Regions from separate parts of the Homo sapiens genome. Here region 1 is linked to region 2. Evidence: promoter capture Hi-C in human tissues and cell types (Jung and others, 2019). All regions are on one chromosome and are shown on one strand. The core of a region is centred on a gene start or on the middle of the fragment in contact, and the rest is flanking DNA. Distances in the headings are between cores, read along the strand shown.

Region 1 (2,700 bases), core at 52-2,551, 69 kb after region 2:
TTCTTCACATACTAGCTGGCCACTTGGATGTCTTCTTTTGAGAAATATTTTTCATGTCCTTTGCTCATTTAAAAAAATCAGTTTGCTTTCTTGCTATTAAGTTTTTTGAGTTCCCTATATGTTTTGGATATTAGCCGTTTATCATATATAGGTTGAACATCTCAAGTAAAAAAATCCAAAATCTGAAATGCTCCAAAATTCAAAACTTTTTGAGCACTGACACAGTGCTCTAAGGAAATGCTTGGGGCATTTCAGATTTTGTACTTTTGGATTTGGGATGCTCAAACAGTAAGTATAATGCAAATATTCCAAAAATGAATCCAAAATCTGAAATACTTCTGGTCCCAGTGATTTTGGATAAAGAATACTCAACCTATATAGTTTGTAAATATATTCTCTCATCCCATAGGTTGTCTCTTCAGTCTGTTGATTGTTTTCTTTGCTATATAGAAGCTTGTTAGTTCGATAGAATCCCATTTGTCTATTTTTGCTATTGTTTCCTGTGCTTTAGGGATCATATTTAAAAAATCATTGCCCAGACCAATGTTGAAGGTTTTTCTTGATGTTTTCTTCTAGTAGTTTCACAGTTTCAAGCCCAAAAATCTTTAATCTATTTTGAGTTGATTTTTGTATATGGTATGAGGTAAGAGTCCAATTTCAGTCTTCTGCATGTGGATACCCAGTTCCCCCAACATTGCTTATTGAAAAGGTTGTCCTTTCCCCATTGTGTGTTTGGGGTACCTTTGTCAAAGATCAATTGACTGTAAATGTGTGGATTTATTTCTAGGCTCTCTATTCTGTTCTATTGATCTATATATCTGTTTTTATGCCAGTACCATACTGTTTTAATTACTACAGGTTTGTAGTGTATTTTGGAATCTGGTAGCGTGATGCCTCCAGCTTTGTTCTTTTTGCTCGTGATTGCTTAGGCTGCTTGAGGTGTTTTGTGGTCTTATACAAATTTTAGGGTTGATTTTTCTATTCCTGTGAAAAATGTCATTGGAATTTTGATAAGGATTACATTGAATCTGCAGATTGCTTTTGGTAGTATGAATATTTTAACAATATTGATTATTCCAATTCATGAACACCAGATGTGTTTCCATTAATTTGTGGTCTTCAATTTCTTTCATCATTATTTTGTGGTTTTCAGTGTACAGGTGTTTCACCTCCTTGGTTAAATTTATTCCTAAGTATTTTTTGATGCTATTGTAAATGGGATTGTTTTCTTGATTTCTTTTTCAGATAGTTCATTGGTAGTACATAGAAATGCTACTGATTTTTGTATGCCGCTTTTGTATCCTGCAAATTTACTGAATTTATTAATTCTAACAGTTTTTCAGTTTTTTTCAGTGGAGTTTTTAGGGATATATATATATATATAATCATGTCACCTGCAAATAGGGACAATTTAACTTTTTCCTTTCCAATTTAGATGTATTTTATTCCTTTTACTTGCTTAATTGCTCTAGCTAGGACTTTCAGTACTGTGTTGAATAGAAGTGCTGAGAGTGGGCATCCTTCTCTTGATCCTGATCCCAGAGAAAAAGCTTTCAACTTTTAATCACTGAGTATGATGTTAGCTGTGGGTTGTCATATATGGCCTTTGTTATGATGAGGTCTATTTCTGCTATGCCTAATTTGTTGAGAGTTTTTATCATGAAAAGATGTTGAATTTTTCAGATGCTTTTTCTGCATCTATTGAGATGATCATATGATTTTTGTCTTTTACCCTGTTAATACATTGTATCATATTTATTGATTTGCATATATTTAACTATCCTTGCATCCCAAGGAAAAATCCCCCTTGATCAGGGTGTATGATCCTTTTAAGGTACTGTTGAATTCAGTTTGCAGGTATTTTGTTAAGGATTTTCTACATGTGTGTTCATTAGGGATATTGGCTTATCATTTTCTTGTAGCATCCTTGTCTGGCTTTGGTATCAGGCTAATAATGGCCTCATAAACTGAATTTGCAGGTGTTCCCTCCTCTTCAATTATGAAAGAGTTTGAGAAGGATGGGCATTAATTTTTCTTTCATTTTTTTTTTTTTTTGAGATAGAGTCTCACTCTTGTCACCCATGCTGGAATGCAATGGCACGATCTCAGCTTACTGCAACTTCCACCTCCCAGGTTGAAGCAATTCTCCTGCCTCAGCCTCCTGAGTAGCTGCGATTATAGGCGCCTACCACCACACCCAGCTAATTTTTGTACTTTTGGTAGAGATAGGGTTTCGCCATGTTGGCCAGGCTGGTCTTTGGTCTTGAACTCCTGACCTCAGGTGATCTGCCTGCCTTGGCCTCCCAAGGTGCTGGGATTACAGGCATGAGCCACTATGGTCAATCTAATTTTTCTTTTTTTCTTTTTTTTTTTTTTATTATACTCTAAGTTTTAGGGTACATGTGCACATTGTGCAGGTTAGTTACATATGTATACATGTGCCATGCTGGTGCGCTGCACCCACTACTGTGTCATCTAGCATTAGGTATATCTCCCAATGCTATCCCTCCCCCCTCCCCCGACCCCACCACAGTCCCCAGAGTGTGATATTCCCCTTCCTGTGTCCATGTGATCTCATTGTTCAATTCCCACCTATGAGTGAGAATATGCGGTGTTTGGTTTTTTGTTCTTGCGATAGTTTACTGAGAATGATGGTTTCCAATTTCATCCATGTCCCTACAAAGGATATGAACTCATCAT
Region 2 (2,769 bases), core at 161-2,660:
TGGCAAGTTTGTGAAACTCATTTGACCCTAAAAGGGGGTTTTTATCTCCAGTCTCTCACTTCTATTCCATTAATCTATGTATCTACCCTTGAGATTGAGAGAGCTAGTAATTAACCGATTAAGAACTGTTTACTTGGTCAGGCGCGGTGGCTCACGCTGGTAATCCCAGCACTTTGGGCGGCCGAGGAGGGCGGATCATGAGGTCAGGAGTTTGAGACCAGCCTGGCCAATATGGTGAAACCCCGTCTTTACTAAAAATACAAAAATTACCTGGGTGTGGTGGCACGTGCCTGTAGTCCCAGCTGCGCGAGAGGCTGAGGCAGGAGAATCGCTTGAACCCAGGAGGCGGAGGTTGCAGTGAGCCGAGATTATGCCACCGCCCTCCAGCCTGGGCTACAGAGCAGGACTCCGTCTCAAACACAACAAAACAGAAAAAAACTCTTTGCTCAATACTCCTATGGACTTAATAGCAATGATTGCTGCTAATGTGATTCTAATACTTTTTGGGCATGCCATCATTGTTTAATTTCAGAGCAAACTTTCTGGAACTGATAAATAATAAGCTCTCCTTAAGAAATTAAAGTGCATTAAAATAAATTGCTTTCAGGGGTTCTTAAACAAGTTCAAGACATCCAGGAGTGTGATACATTTGAGCGAGAAATAGCTGGCCTAGTTCACTCTCCACATTAATCAGAACGTCTCCCACCTTCTTTTTAGGGATAAGCACTCTCAAATATCATTATTCATAAACTAGGGGAGGGCCGGGTTTCCACTCGCATCAGTTACTTTCTCTCCCCTGAGAATATCTTGCAGCCGCTGGAATTTTGGGCCCCTTTGCTAGGAGGCAATTAACAAATTGCACTTTTACTATCAAAGCTGAGAGTGGCCCAGCAGTGGCCCTGGCCCTGCCGGCACGCTTCCGATGCGTCGCCCTGGCCTGAAGATCGCCACAGTCGGGTTCGCGCCCCGTGGTCCCCTAAGGCTTCCAGGGCGCTGGAGCTGGTGCACAGGACCTGCTCCTCCAGGGTCCCCATCTGGGTCTCCAGCGGTCCTTCCTCTCTGCCTTCTCCTCGCAGAGCACCCCGTGGGCCTAGTCTAAACGAGGGCACCACTGGTCCGGAGTTGCACTTGTTCGCTCCCTCCTGGGCTCTGGCAGCGCTGCATCCCCGGGGTTGCTTCGGGTTCGGGCCCAATAGCAGAGTCAGAGCCGAGACGCATGTCCCCTGCACCGGCCAAGGGTGCCGCTGGGGCTCGCGCCAAGGAGGCAAAGGCGGGGACCAGAGGCGCCGGAGGCGGCGCAACGCGCACAGGTGGCGCCCGGCCTGGCCAGGCTCTGGCAGGCGAGGCTGGGTGTGGTCGTGAAGGGGCGGGCGGACCGGCCCCACACTGCCTCGGTTCGGCAAGTGGGTCAGTTGGCTGGGGCTCACTTGGCAACGGGACGCGGGAACGAGGGGCGCGGACGCAGGCCCGGGAGGACGCGGCGGCGGGAACCTGGGGGCGCAGGGCTAGGGCAGCGGGCCCGACCCGCACGGCTTTCCTGGAAAGCGCTGCCCCTCGCCGCGGCGATGCCCTCGCTGTGGAGAGAAATCCTCTTGGAGTCGCTGCTGGGTAAGCCGAAGCCCCTCGCCGCGAGTTCGCGGGTGCCAGCTCCCCGGGCCATGTCCAGAGCCGTGGAGCCAGGCCAGGTTGGCTGAGTTCAGGTAGGAGGAAAAGGGCGCTCCGTGCCCAGAGTGGAGATGCTTATCGTCCCCTGGGAACTTTTCCTACTGAAGGGAATAAAGGAAAAGACCTAGATTGAAGTCTTCAAGCTGAGTCTGCGAGGCGCCCGCGAGAGACCCCGTCGCCCGAGTTCCCAGCAGCCCTGGGATTGTGCCCAAGGAGCGCGAATTCTCCTCGTGTCGGCCTTGACCCCGCGCGGCCGGTACCGTCCCCAAAGCCCCCCACCCGTGGCCTTTAAGTTTAACTTAATACAGTTCAGTGCTGAACTTTAAAATTCAGAAGGAAAGGGGCACCCGTTTTCCCCAGGAGCTGTAGGTGGACACTGGGCGGCAGCTGCTGCCGTGGGCTGGGCCCAGGACAAGTGGCCTTGGTGTCGGCTGCACACTTGGGCATTTGGCGAAAAGCATCAGACTCGAGTCTCATCTGCTCTCTCACCAGCTTTGCAAAATCCCGAGGACAATTTTATTGGTGTAATTCTGTCGGAGCTGTGTGAGTAATAAAATCAAAGTTCCCAGACAAACATTTGGGATATTGCTAGAATCCCCGGTTCGTTACAAAACAAAGATCCCTCTGGTCTGGGTGGGGCGCCTTCCTGAGAACTTGATTTTCTGGGAGCTGGTAATTCTCGGGAGTGCTTCAGACTATTTTTTTCTGGCTCAGCCTGTATCTATAAGTTGGGAGATGTACAGTGCCTAGCATTCAATAAGTACCTCAGGTGCTAGGTACTCAGTGCACTTGATCTCATTTAATCCTCCCAACAACACTGTGAAGGGGTTGAAAGTCCTATTTTGCTGATTAAGAAGGGGAGGTTGGAAAGTCAGTTGGTAGAAAGTTCCCACGCCCAGTGGTTAGACCGGCTACCTTTGGAGCCAGGCTGCTTAGAGTTAGGGCAACTCTGACATTTGCTACTTGTGTAACCTTAGGTACTCACTTAACTTTCTGAGTCTCAGTGTTTTGTTTGTTGTTTTGTTCTTGCTTAGTTAGTTTTTGCATTTATAAGAGGGGAGCGGAAATAGTACCCACCTCATAGCTTATGGGGCTGTATAAGGA

What was found. Contacts are between HindIII fragments. The study calls those that stand out against the background at their distance.
Region 1: a fragment that was not itself captured here is called in contact with the fragment with the promoter of CWH43 in region 2 in 4 of the 25 tissues and cell types used here (lymphoblastoid cells, mesenchymal stem cells, spleen and 1 more).

Annotation. Positions count from the first base shown.
Region 1 is chr4:49,053,552-49,056,251 of GRCh38, forward strand. The region is part of intron 15 of CWH43 (cell wall biogenesis 43 C-terminal homolog); the gene reads left to right. Among named protein-coding and RNA genes, the nearest start is that of CWH43, 69 kb to the left of the region's middle. The HindIII fragment of the contact is 4,445 bases long and covers 1-2,700 here.
Region 2 is chr4:48,984,865-48,987,633 of GRCh38, forward strand. It overlaps CWH43 (cell wall biogenesis 43 C-terminal homolog), which reads left to right and starts at 1,411. Exons shown (of 16, transcript NM_025087.3): 1 at 1,411-1,608. The coding sequence starts at 1,566. The HindIII fragment of the contact is 14,941 bases long and covers 1-2,769 here.